Linked DNA regions of Homo sapiens: region 1 is linked to region 2. Evidence: promoter capture Hi-C in 16 types of primary human blood cells and fetal thymus (Javierre and others, 2016). All regions are on one chromosome and are shown on one strand. The core of a region is centred on a gene start or on the middle of the fragment in contact, and the rest is flanking DNA. Distances in the headings are between cores, read along the strand shown. Region 1 overlaps CRPPA (CDP-L-ribitol pyrophosphorylase A). Region 2 holds the start of CRPPA (CDP-L-ribitol pyrophosphorylase A).

The links. Contacts are between HindIII fragments. The CHiCAGO score rates a contact against its expected background, and 5 or more counts as called.
Region 1: a contact is called between a fragment that was not itself captured here and the fragment with the promoter of CRPPA in region 2, in 1 of 17 cell types (erythroblasts). The highest score is 5.6, in erythroblasts.

What each region holds. Positions count from the first base shown.
Region 1 is chr7:16,268,679-16,275,670 of GRCh38, forward strand. All of the region lies in intron 6 of CRPPA (CDP-L-ribitol pyrophosphorylase A), which reads right to left. It overlaps CRPPA-AS1 (CRPPA antisense RNA 1), which reads left to right. Exons shown (of 5, transcript NR_038947.1): 5 at 179-1,926. Among named protein-coding and RNA genes, the nearest start is that of CRPPA-AS1, 62 kb to the left of the region's middle. The HindIII fragment of the contact is 2,368 bases long and covers 1,509-3,876 here.
Region 2 is chr7:16,420,288-16,426,853 of GRCh38, forward strand. It overlaps CRPPA (CDP-L-ribitol pyrophosphorylase A), which reads right to left and starts at 1,251. Exons shown (of 10, transcript NM_001101426.4): 1 at 779-1,251. The coding sequence starts at 1,035. LOC105375168 (a long non-coding RNA gene) reads left to right here and starts at 399. Exons shown (of 5, transcript XR_007060223.1): 1 at 399-695; 2 at 2,693-2,750. RefSeq lists silencers at 842-901, 922-1,061. The HindIII fragment of the contact is 1,514 bases long and covers 653-2,166 here.

The DNA.
Region 1 (6,992 bases), core at 1,443-3,942, 150 kb before region 2:
TAAACAGTACATTTCTAGACAATATAGAAAAATAGATTCAAATATGTAATATAGAATCTTACGGTAGAGTCTACAGAATACATTTTAAAAATATTGCTTATGGCTTATTTTCTTCACTCCACTAGAAGGTCCCCTCTGCAGTGCTCATTTCTGCAACACTGTCTTTCTTTCCTGACAGAAGGCTGCTCACCACCAATTTCATCACTGTTGCTAACTCCAGCTCATCTAATCTCTGCAACATCTGCTACCAGCACCTTCTCTTGCCTCCTTTTGTGAACATAGTTTTTTCTTCTGGTTAGAAAATCAGTTCGAACTTCTTGAGTTTTGTGTTTTAAACTCTTCTCAACTGTTCCGATGATTGATGGATGGCCCAGAGGCGACCTCTTTATCTCCAGCAACATATTTGGCTGTTGGCCCGGTAGAGAGGTACTCCAGAAGCTTGCTGGTTCATCATGCTCTCATCTTTAACCACAACTATTTATCTGACTCCTTCCATCTCCACAGCACTGTGTGAGGGATCAGTGATAAGAGACGGTGAAAGACATGCGCAAATGGATAAATAATAAGCAGGATATGTAGAATGACACAACAATTGATGAGTAATTTAGGAGATCCAATAACTAAAAAAAAAAAGACTGGGGACAAGTTCATGGAAAGAGTAATCAACTAAGCCTTATAACATAAAATTGACAAATAGAGAAGGCATGCAATCCAGTAGAATAGAGTGCAAAAGAGGTAGAAGACTAATCGTTTCAAGACATGTTGAGCCACAACAGCAATAACATTGTGACAAAAAACGTCGGTGTAGACTGCAGAAGATCTTCAATGACGGATCAAGCTGTATAGACTTTTTTTTACCCTCATATACTGAATAGTCATTTAAGGTATACAGTGCCAACGTAAGAGAGAAAGGTAAACTTTTTTTAACACAAGTTGTAGGCCTTGGAAAGAAGTTTTCCAGTAACAAGATAACACGATAATGTACTGTGGTTATAAGCTCAAAGTGGTATATTTGATTCAGTGTTCCCAGAACCACCAAAACCTTGGAACCATTGTTTAGCTAAAGCTACTAGAACAACAGAATAACCTACTCTGTGGCATTGTAAAGTAAAATTATACTACACACAAATACTTGACATAAAATACATTTCCAAACTCAATTATTAGGGATAACATAAGCACAAAATGATGCTTTGCAAACATCATGTATCCTATAACTGGAGAAAAAAAATTAATGACATGAAGTGAAATGACTGAGTTCTGAAGCTACATCTCAATTTAAATAGCATAAGCAATTTAGTATACAACATTCTTCAAAATCAATTGTTGAAGGTTAACTATAATCTACATACAAAAACAACTTTGTCAACTTTTTGTACGGATTTTCCTTCTAAACATATTTACTTTATGTGTAAAATCAAAAAATTTCCTGAGTTAAAGGCTAAGACTTGACTTTATGAATACATGCCCAAAAATTGGTGGTGGCTGGTTTCTGTTTTTATTTTGTAAGCTTAGTATAATGGTTGTCCAGAACTTGTAAGCAATGACCTCATTTCTAAGCGGACAAGATGCAAAAGACCATTTTTACAGATTAACCATCTGGTTCCTTTAGGAAGAGTAATATTTCAACAGGTTCCTGTATTTCAAGAATATAAATAATTAAAAAGATGAAGATATGTGAAATACACAAAGAAAAAAATAGAGAAAATAGCATTTAAAGCAAATTATCCTAGCTCCCTCAATTAATATTTTAAAACCATGACAATCAGTTATTAATATAAATTGTTAATTTTATTTAATACAACATCAATATAATTCATACCATCTTCTTCAACTAGGTGGTCTATCATTTTGGAGTTTCTTTCCACCTCTGGAGAATTGCTCAGGAAATCTGGCTAACATACCAAATAAATCAAATGGATTTAATGAGATGGTTTTTGGCTAGTTTCTATATTCTTGTATACACATGCATGTAACACATAAATGTGGTGCTGTTCACAGTTAGAGGCGCAAGAGAAAAAAGTAGCTTTCCAGTGTTATTTCATTGTTATTAACTATACAGTATTCAGGTGCAAACAAATGAAAATCCTGTATATTCACGCTAAAATATAATATGTATCAAAATAAGCATAAAATAACTGTTTTGGATAGGTCTTAGGATGCTGCTGTGGCTTAATTTGCTCTGTTTATGTTCTCTCCGCTTTTCTTTATTGCATGTGCTAGTTTTGATGTGTTGTTTGACTAATATGTCATACGGTGAATTTACTGAGGTCTATAACAAAAGGCATGGATCCATACACTGGACACAACCTTGAGGGCATAAGGGAAAAAAAAAAGAAACTAAGTACCATAGAACAGCCTCAACAAAATCAGAGCATGCTTTACACGTGATTTTCAGTTACACCCTGCTTGTCATTTGTGATTACTCAAAACAATAATTAAATTACGTCCTCCAGGAAACAGGAAGGAGTGGATAACCAAAATACATGAAAAGCCCCTACAGTCCCTGTTTGTTCAGAGTATAGATCAGCATTCTTTAGGAGTTCCATTCTTTTATTACAGGAATGAATATTGGGTTGAACACGCTTATATGCATTTAGAGGTAATGTGATGTATGAAAACAAGTACTGCAGAGGTTTCCTCTGTAGAACTGTACTTTTAAGAGGAGCAGCCACCATAATCTTCTTGTAAAGGTAAACTGGATCATGTCATTTTCAAATAAAGTCTTCTCTCACTTCATTTTCCCCTTAAAACAATATATAAATGATAATAGTAGCAACGGTAACAGTAGAAGTGGTAAACTCAACATAAAAAGCCTACAAGGCTCTTTCCTTGTCTCTTGCTACTCCCACTTCCACTCCATTTGCATCTCCAACCACAGATGCTTTCTTTCTGTGCCCCAATGAAGCTCTTTATGTGCCTTTCACATACTGTTACTTCTGGTTTGTTCTTTAAATAGATAATTATTTATTGCCCTTAAAGACTTAAGTTAAATACCACATCTGCCAAGAGATTTCACTTACTGCCTTCCACTCCCAATCTAAGTCACTTTCTCTGGCTCTCTTATATAAGCACAGTTATGTTTTCCTTAGAATATTCATCACAATTTGACATTTTAATTTGCATTCATTTACTTTTTATCCCCAACTGGACAATATGCTCCTTGGAAATAGGAAATCATACTTGCTCAGTTCAACTCCCTGTATCTAGTGACTATATCATGACAGGCATTTATTATTTGGTAAATAAACTAGAGAATTTAGGAATAAAAGACTAATCATATCTTCCCACTTATAAATTCCTTACTACCTTCAGTTCAGTATATAGTATAAACTATTTTTGGATATTTACTGAAAACTGGGAAGAAGTGAGAGAGGTCCCTTTAAAACTGTCTACCACCCTGATCTATCTCTGGAGAGCTCTATCTTCAAAGCTGGTAAGGTCTGTGAAATACTTCAAATTGCTGAGAAAAACGGAGGAGGAAAATAGCAAGACTGATAGCAAAGCCTTGTCCTTTAAGAATCAGTAAAAAGTGCCTGTGAATGGGGGGAGTAGGAGAGGTGCCTCTCCCCAAGTTAGCTCTTTACTTAACTTTTTAACAACCTCTTCCAGGTATTTGGTGGGTATCATTAAAGTTAGATGTTTGGTTCACCTGTAAGGTATGTTGCAAAATTCTAGTACAGATAATTACAATAAACATACCCAATCTTTTCCCTTAATTTCAAAGGAAAACATTTTTTCTTTTCATGTTAACAAAACAATCCTCCCATTATGTGTTGAGCAGCTCCACACCCACACTGATCTGCCCTACAGATGCCAGGATTTCAATAGTGGTGACTTCATCCTTTTTACACATTCCTTTCAAAGTAGGATGAAAGCTTTGAGAGGTGAAAATGTTAGAATACGTTGCATTTTGTATTTGTAAGTTATAAGCTGAAAAATGTCATGAGATAAATTTACCTTTATAAGGGAAGGGAAAAAGTATATAAAACTACATAAATCCTTTCCTAAGGGGATGTCTTTCAGACATTAGGTATTAGCCCTTTGTCAAACTTAAAAATCTCAGTCTTTTATCTCACCTTTCCTTAGAAGAATATTAATTAGTAGAGACCATTTTGAATCAACTAGCATCTATATTCACTATTGACATGACCTCAGGCAAATCAAACTGCAAGTTTCCCTATTTCCATTTGTAAAATAAAGGGGGAAATCATAGGGTTATTTTTTTTCCATTTATATATCTTGTTTGAAAGAATGTCTATTCATATCCTTTGTCGCTTTTTTTTTTATTTTATTATTATTATACTTTAAGTTTTAGGGTACATGTGCACAATGTGCAGGTTAGTTACATATGTATACATGTGCCATGCTGGGGTGCTGCACCCATTAACTCGTCATTTAGCATTAGGTATATCTCCTAATGCTATCCCTCCCCCCTCCCCCCATCAAAGGGTTATTTTAAAGAGAAAAGAACTGCATAGTACTGATACAAACAGGAGACACGGAAATCCCGGGTAGAAGAGGACAGTCCCTGGTGAGGGCCACACCCTTAGGCCTGGGTACTGTGGCCCAAAGTGAGAACATGCATTCCTGTTTTCCCACTCAAATGCTGCTTTTTGGCTCTCCCTGCCTCCCATCTTGTACCCATAAAAAACCCCAAGCTCCACTAGCAGAGTGATGGCAGAGGGGCAGCAGAGTGGAACAGCAGGGGCCAGAAGAGAAGCAGCAGCTGTCAAAGAGAAGCAGTTTGACTTCAGAGGGACAGCTTGAAGGTGGGACTTCAGAAGGACGGCTTGACGGTAGGACCACAGAGAAGAGGTCAGCAGGGGATAGCCAAACTCCAGGGGAAGACCACCTTTCCACTCCATCCCCTTTCCAGCACCGCATCCCACTGAAAGCCACTTCCACTCGTCAGTAAATCCTCCACATTCACCACCCTTCAATTAACTGATGCAGCCTGATTCCTCCCGGACACCGAACAAGAACTCTGGTACCAAGAGGGCTGGTGCAAAAGGTTGTCATCCTACCCTCCACTGAGCTGTTAAACACTTAAGCTGTTTGTAGACAGCAAAGGTAAAAGAGCACAATGTAACACACGTCCTCTGGGGCTTCAGGGGTCATGGATACCCTGCTAGATGTAGCCATGGAGCTGCATGAAGTTCTATTCCTGCCATCGCGCCCAGAAGGACTTGTCCTGGCCTCTGTACCTGCTCACCTGCATGCTCCCTGTCCCATGAGAGGTGGAGAGCTGTGGGCTGATTAAATGAGCCAACCCCTTAGCCAGTCCTGCGAAGGGGCCAGGGGAACTGCCCATTTCAGTACTACTCCTGACACTCCATAATCAGTGTTGTGGCTGTTTTTGTTTTTGTTTTTGTTTTGTTTTGTTTTTGAGACGGAGTCTCGCTCTGTCGCCCAGGCTGGAGTGCAGCGGCGCGATCTCGGCTCACTGCAACCTCTGCCTCCCGGGTTCACGACATTCTCCTGCCTCAGCCTCCCGAGTAGCTGGGACTACAGATGCCCACCACCACGCCCAGCTAATTTTTTGTATTTTTAGTAGAGACAGGTTTCACCGTGTTAGCCAGGATGGTCTCGATCTCCTGACTTCGTGATCCGCCCACCTCGGATCCCAAATTGCTGGGATTACGGACGTGAGCCACCACACCCGGCCTGTTGTGGCTGTTTCTAAGAGAAAGCATTCTCTTAAGTTTGTGTGGCATAACAGGTTTTTAAACTTTTAATTCTTTTTAACCAAATTTAGAAGTCAGGGAAGGCTTAGCAGGAACGATATCTCCTTTCAAGGTGAACCAAGATTCTCTGAGTAAAATAACAGGACACCCAAAGTTCAGTTTTAGAAGTTCTACATTAGCTCCTCATTAAAAAAAAATAAAAAGTCTAATTTATCTCCAAAAAGGAAGATATTAAATTAAGAAATTTTTGAGGAATGGTGATTTTCTTACTTTTGAATATATGAATACTTCTTAGTTTTATTATATGAAGGAAATCCCTAACTTCAAGCCAAACCTAATTTTTTAAAAATTCCAAATTTGCTATGTCTGTCTATATTTATAGACGAATTAGATACTTGAAATTAAAAGAGAAATTTAAGTGATCTTTAAAAATTATAAATGGCCAGGAGAGCACACGAACAATAAAGGGGAGAAAGATTCTGGAAACCTAGAAATATGATTTTAGTCTTTGAATCTCTGCAGACCCTTCATAAAAACAGAAAAAGCAAGGAGGATATCAAAGCCAAAAACCTATAGACATTATCTACTATAAAACCAATATTTGGGAGGCTGAGGCACGAGAATCATTTGAACCTGGGAGGCGTAGGTTGTGGTGAGCTGAGACCATGCCACTGCACTCCAGCCTGGGCAACTGAGTGAGACAGTGTCTAAAAAAAAATAATATTAGTGGGTAGGGATAAATTGGCAGCACATATAAAGACACACACAGTTTAAGAAACTGTAGAAAAAAATGGGAGTAAACCAAGAAAGACAGAAAACAACAAAATCATCATCAGATACTTTCTGGATACCTTAGCAGGCCATTCCATTCTGGGAATAGCAACAGAAACTAGGAGAAGCCTTTGTAGGCTTTAATTCAAAGTTGAAAACAAGGAAGCCACATGAACGTTCTCTGCTAGGGATAACTGGGGGTCTGGGTCCAAAGCACATTCAAAACCAATAAACAGAAGCACCGTAGTATGTTAAAGCACCAGCCTGAGAAGTCTAGATGGACCAAGGGAGGTGCACTAGGAATAAAGGAAAGAGAAAGTACAGGCAAAGGACGGCCACGGAGGTGTTATTTTGACTCATCCCTTCCTCCTAAAACTAGATAAAACTCTTCTACTTAAAAAGGAACAATAGGGCTAGGTGCAATGGTCATGCCTGTATTTCCGCCCTTTGGGAGGCCAACGTGAGAGGATCACTTGAGGCCAGGAGTTTGAGACCAGCCTGGGCAACATGTGGAGACTCCTGTCTCTACAAAAA
Region 2 (6,566 bases), core at 1-2,500:
ATATTTGTAATGCCGCTGCTTCCCACCCCTGCACCCTCGCCCCAAGCTCCACCTCATTACTCAGTGCTAAAAGCAAAGTAAGTTAATATTATAACATACCCCTTCATTTCACTTCCTCAGCTCCTCACGACTGTTCCCCTAGTCCTCCTTATCCCATTCCCTGTCTCCTTCATTTCCCCAACTAGTTAACTTCAGTGCCCTTTCTAAGATAAAGGGGGTATGACCTCAAATTCAGGCTTAAAGCCCTTTCCACCATTGAAAGGTTATTAAATTCTGCTCCTCTCCCCTCCTGCAGCACCTAGTAATTAGCGCAGCCTGTCTCACAGAAGGTGCTCAGTAAATGAATGAAAAAAACGAACACACGCCCTGGAAACTTCAGTGTGCACGTACAACTCAATCCACGCATGCGCGGAGGCAGAGCCCCAGGACCGCGAGACTATCCGCACAGCTTCTCCTCAGGCCCCACAGCTAGAACCCCAAATCGCCTAGTCCCAACCCATGCACTCTCTAATCGGCGCCACACGACGGGCCTTCCCCACAACCTCATCTGCTTGGGGACGTAAAGGGCTCTGTGGGGGAGCTGCAGCTTTCGTGCCCATCTGTTAAAGGCCAGAACTTCCCATCTCTGAAATGCGGGAGGGAACAGAGCTCAAGCTTGAATAACTGAGCGCGGCCCGGCAGTCCCCCAAGTGAAGGTGCTAGCGCTAGAGCAGCGGCAGGGCGGGGAGCGGGAGGCCGGGCCCCAGGGAACCGCGGGGCGCGCCCGGCGCCGCATTACCTCTCCAGGGCCTGTAGGGTGTAGCTGATGAGCGGCCTCTCCAGGATGGGGCAGAATTGCTTCGGGGTGGGGACCCCCATCCTCTCCCCGCACCCCCCGGCAGGCAACACAGCTGCCACGGCTTGCGGGTGGCGCCCGGGCTCGGTCCCGGCCACGCTCTGCAGGGAGGCGGAAGCCGTGTGGTCCGCGCCGCGCTGACCACTCAGGCAAGGACCCGGCTCCGCCGGCCTGGCGCTGCCCGGCGGCCCGGCCTCCATGGCTGCGGGCGGAACGGCGAGCCCCGCTAGCCTCGGGCCGATGCGACCCCGCGCTGCTCCCACCCTCGGCCGGGGTCGCGGGGCGAAGGGCAGACCACGGAGAGGGACGCAGAGCGCGCAAGCAGAAGGCGCCCCCCTCAGCCGTCGGAGCCCCGCTGTTGCTGCCCCGCAGGGGACGATCCCGACAGCTACGGCAGCAGCTGAGGCTGCCGATCTGCCCTCGCGGCTCGGCTGCGGCCTCCGCACCCGGTCCCAGCGCCTGCGGGAGGGCTGACTTGCCCGCTCTGCGCTTCCCCCGGGCAGGCCCAGCTGTCGCCGCAAGTGGAAATGTCAGAACGCCCTACATATCTAAAGATCGCAGATACTCAAGGGCCATGAGTATGCAGGAGAGGTCAGGCCTCTGTCCCATCCCTCCCTGCTTTAAAATTTCGGAAGAGATTGGGATTCAAGTCACAGGATGGGACGTAGGGTGCGTATGCACCTCGATTATCTGAATTCCATTAAGCTCTGGAGGCTTCCTGGTTCCACCTGGGGTAAAGACAGATGGATTAGCAAGTGTTATTGTGGCACATCAATAATCCAAACTGTGGTGGCTCTCAAACTTGTCTGCACTTTGGAACCACCTGGGGAGCGTGTCCTGACACGCTCAGAGATTGGGATTTAATTGGTCTGGTGAGCACCGGACTTTGGAATGTTTTTAAAGATCCTCGGGTGATTCTGATGAGCAGGCATGTTTTGGAACCATAGGGTCAAAGCAATACTAATTGCTGAACAATCGATACACCTTATGTCATTTAGTCCCCAGAAGAACTCAACTATTGCCATTTCCCTTTTTACAAAGGGGAAAAGACGTTAAAATGGTTAATTTATGTAAGATTGCACAACTAATGGCAGAGGAGCCTTAAGGCCCTCATACAGAAGTAGGCCAAAGTTGAAGAATTCCAGGCCTAAAGCATATCTTACCTTATTTAGTACTCTTGTTGCTGGTGAGGTTTACCATGAAAGTATAGTGAGAATTTGGAGGAGAGCACTATTGTATTAGGTCCCTGGAATGTAAACTCCATGCAAGCAGCAACATTTTTCTTTTGGCTTGGGTTGTGTGTGTGTGCCCAGCTCCTGGAATGTAACACAAGCTTAATATGTATTGAATGAATTGCTGATTAAATAGATTAATGATCATTAAAGTGTATAATCATCAGTAATTCAGTCTTAATCCAGTGGCTTATGATTAATAAAAAATAATCTTTTTAAACACTGGAAATGTTATCTAGTTGTAGTATTACAATTTTTATTTTTACCTGTTTTCTTGAGAGCATATAAAAATATGTTTTCTGCTTTTCCTTTTTGTTTAGTCTTATTGAAGGCATTCTTTCACTTTTGTTACTTTTATTATAATTAGCATTTAGGTCCTGTGCTAGTTGGTTTCTTAACTGAAAAGTGGGTGCCATAATATACTTCCTTGTAATTTTTATTGCTATCGTTCCTTTCTAATTTGATCTCGAGGTCTCTCTCTTACGAGTGGCCATAAGCCAGAACAGCCACTCTTCAGGAGAGCCCTGGCCCAGAGAGGAAAGCTAGGTTCTGGTGTGCAGGTGAGACGCCAGAGGAGGCAGCACACAAAACATGTGAAATAACAGGCGCATTTTATTACTTACAGATTCACCAGAGAATAAGCCTGATGGAAGTCTGGAGATAACAGGACTCCCAACCAGCAGGTGGGGTGCAAGAGAGAGGACCTGTGGGGCTGTGTTAAGGTCCAAAGGCTTTATCCCTTAGGCTTTCCAGAGGGGGTTGTGGATTGACTAGTTTAAAGAAAACACCAGCAAAGGGAGAACTTGACTCTGGTGTTGACCATTGGGTTTTATCATGGTTAGCAGCTGTTGGGTTTTTGGTCATGGAATGAGGAATAAGTGTTCTATATCACAGGGAGGGGAAGTTTTAAGTAGGCCACAGGTGACGTGATACAACTGGGTTTCAAACAGCTTATATCAGGCCTAAAAATGGATGCCCAGGCAGCAACTATATTAAACAAGTTTGGCACAATACTTGACTTCATAGCGCCACTACCACACCTGTATCAAGCATTTAAATATCTGTTGACTAACTGGGTGGATAAATAAATGAGTCTATCTATGAGAGCAGGAAGGCAAATCGAATTAGTATTTCTATTAATATTGATCTTTAAACCTCCCTTTTTAATCTAAAGGTGGAGTTGTTATAAAGGTATTCTTCCTTTACTTAATCTTGAGTGAAGAAAAGTAGAGTAATAAAGCTCTTGTTATACTAATTGCTATAGAATAATTTTATATAATTAAACATTGACAAATTTTAACTAGAATCTTAGTTTTGTTCTTAGAGCAGATATATCAATTTAGATCTTCCATGAATCCTTAGATCCTTAGATCTTATATACTGTATATTAACAATGTCTAGCAGACCAACTTGTAGAGAAAAAAGGGCACATTAAAGTATTCATTCATATACGTAGTATGAAGCAACATTTTTCTCTCTGTCCTTTTTATATAAATATAATTAGTTCCATGTTTTGCATACTTTGGGGTAACAGATGTAGCTTCCTTGTTACTTAATACCAAGTTATAGCAGCCACAATATGAGAATATCTTCTCTGCATCAGGCATGTGAAAGTACATACCCTGAAAAGTGAACTCCTCTGGGACCCATTGGTAATAACAATTCTAAGATATCACTTGAAGAGTTTAGAAAAAATAAACCCCAACTGAATCATGAGGCAGAGCATGCAGAGTTGGAAGTTCCTGGAGTGGTTTCCATTTTGAGCTTCCAAGTAGGCAAAATAATGACTCCCCAAAGATGCCCATGCTCTTATCTCCAGAAGCTATGAATATGTTACCTTACACTGCTAAAGAGACATTGCAGATGTGATTAAGTGAAGGATCTCAAGATGGAGGGGAGTAGCCTGGATTATCCAGGTGGGCCCTGTGTAATCTCTGGCATCCTTATAGGAGAGAGGTCAGAGTTAGAGAAGGAGGTATGAGGATGGAAGCAGCCATCAGAGTGCAGAGGGGTGGGAATGTAGGCAACCTCTAAAAGCTGGAAAAGGCAAGGAAACAGGTTTTTCTCTTAGAGCCTGCAGAATAATATAGCCCTGCCACCCCATTTTCAGATTTCTGATATCCAGAACTGTAAGATAACATACTTGAGTTGTTTTAAGCTGCTAAATCTGTGGTAATTTATTATAGCAGCAAGAGGAAACTAATACAGGCTTCACACTGAGGAAGATTCTCATTTGGACTATAATCTGCAAATGAAGTTATACGTAGTTAGAAATGCAGTAATATGATTGAAAAAATAAGGCACTGTTCATTCAACTTTATGTCTCGTTACTAGAACCCCAGTATTGACTTTTAAAATAAATCCTTTGTCTTGTGAATTTAAAAATGTATTATAAATGTTTAAAGCATAACTTTGTTAAATGTATACCACGATTTCATAACCTGGCTTTGGCATGCCTTTAATTTTTTAAAGTAGACTAAGTGTAGTTTTAGGTTCACAGCAAAATTGAGAGAAAGGTACAAAAATTTCCAATAGCTCCCTGCCCCACACATACATAGCCTCCCACATTATTAACATCTCCCACCAGAGTGGTACATTGGTTACAACTGATGAACCTACAGTGACACATCATTATAACCCACAGTCCCTAGTTTACGTTAGAGTTCACACTTGGTGTTGTACATTCATTCTATAGGATTGATAAATTTACAGTGATGTGTATCCACCATTACAGTATCATGCAGAGTAATTTCACTGCCCTAAAATCCTCTATCCTCTGTCTATTCATGCCTTCCTCTCCTCTAATCCCTGCCCAATCCCTGGCATCCAATTATCTTTTTACTGCCTCCATGCTTTTGCCTTTTCCAGAACATCATATAGTTGGAACCATACAGTATTCTTTTCAGATTGGCTTCTTTCACTTAGTAATATGCATTTAAGTTTTCTCCATATCTTTTCATGGCTTGACAGCTTCTTTCTCTTTAACACTGATTTTTTTTTTTTTTCTGGATGTACTGTGATGTATTTATTCACTCACCTACTGAAAGACATCTTGTTTGCTTCCAAGTTTTGGCAATTATGATTAAGCTGTAATAAACATCTCTGTGTAGGGTTTTTTTTAATTTTATTTTAAGTTCTGGGGTACATGTGCAGGATGTGCAGGTTTGTTACAAAGGTAAACGTATGCCATGGTGGTTTGCTGTACCTATCAACCCTTGACCTAGGTATTAAACCCAGCATGCATTAGCTATTTTTCCTAATGTTCTCCCTCCCCACTCCCCATCTCCCTACAGGTCCCGGTGTGGTTCCCCTCCCCGTGTTCTGATTATTCAGCTCTCACTTATAAGTGAGAACATGCGGTGTTTGGTTTTCTGTTCCTCTGTGCAGGTTTTTATGTGTACAAAAATTTTCAATTCCTTTGGGTAAATACCAAGGAGAAAGATTGCTGAATTGCACGGGCAAAAGTATGGTCAGTTTTGTAAGAAACGGCCAAACGGTCCTCCAAAATAGGTATACCATTTTGCATTCCCACCAGCAATGAATGAGAGTTTCTGTTGCTTCACATCCTCACCAGCATTTGGTGTGTCAGTGTTCTGGATGTTGGCCATTCTAATAGGTGTGTAGTGGTATCTCAGTGTTGATTTAATTTGTATTTATTTGATGACATATGATGTTGAGCATTGTTCATATGCGTATTTGTCATGTGTATCATATTTGGTGAGGTGTCAGAGTCTTTGGCCCACTTTTTAGTTGGGTCATTTGTGTTTTTATTGTTCAGTTTTGAGAGTTCTTTGTTTATTTTGAAGAACAATTTTTTATCTGATATTACTTTGGCAAATATTTTCTCTGTGGCTTGTCTTCTTATTCTCAACAGTGTCTTTTGCAGAGCAGAAATTTTTAGTGATAATGAAGTCCAGCTTATCAATTGTTTTTCATGGATCATGCCTTTGGTGGTGCTTTTAAAAAATGATCACCTAGGTTTTCTGCTATGCTATCTATTAGGAGTTTTATAGTTTTGTGGGTTTTTTTAGGTCGGTGATTCATTTAGGTCAGTGAGTTTTGAGTTAATTTTGTAAAGGGTATAAGGTTTGTCTAGATTATTTGTTGTTTTTGCATGTAGATATGCAGTTGTTGCAGCAACATTTGTTGAAAAGACTGTCTTCGCTTCATTTTGTTGCCTTTGCTCCTTTGTCAAAGATCAGTTGACTGTATTTATTTGAGTCTAATTCTGGTTTCTTTATAATGTTCCATTGATTCATTTGTACATCCTTTAGTCAATACCACACTGTCCTGATTACTGTAGCTTTTTATATGTCTTGAGATCCAGTAGTGTCTGTCTTCCAACTTTGTTCTTCTTCAATATCGTGTTGGCTATTCTGGGTCTCTTGCCTCTCCATATAAACTTAAAAATCAGTTTGTCAATGTCCACAAAATAACTTGCTGGTATTTTGATTGGGATTGCATTGAATTTATAGATTAATTTTGGAAGAACTGACATC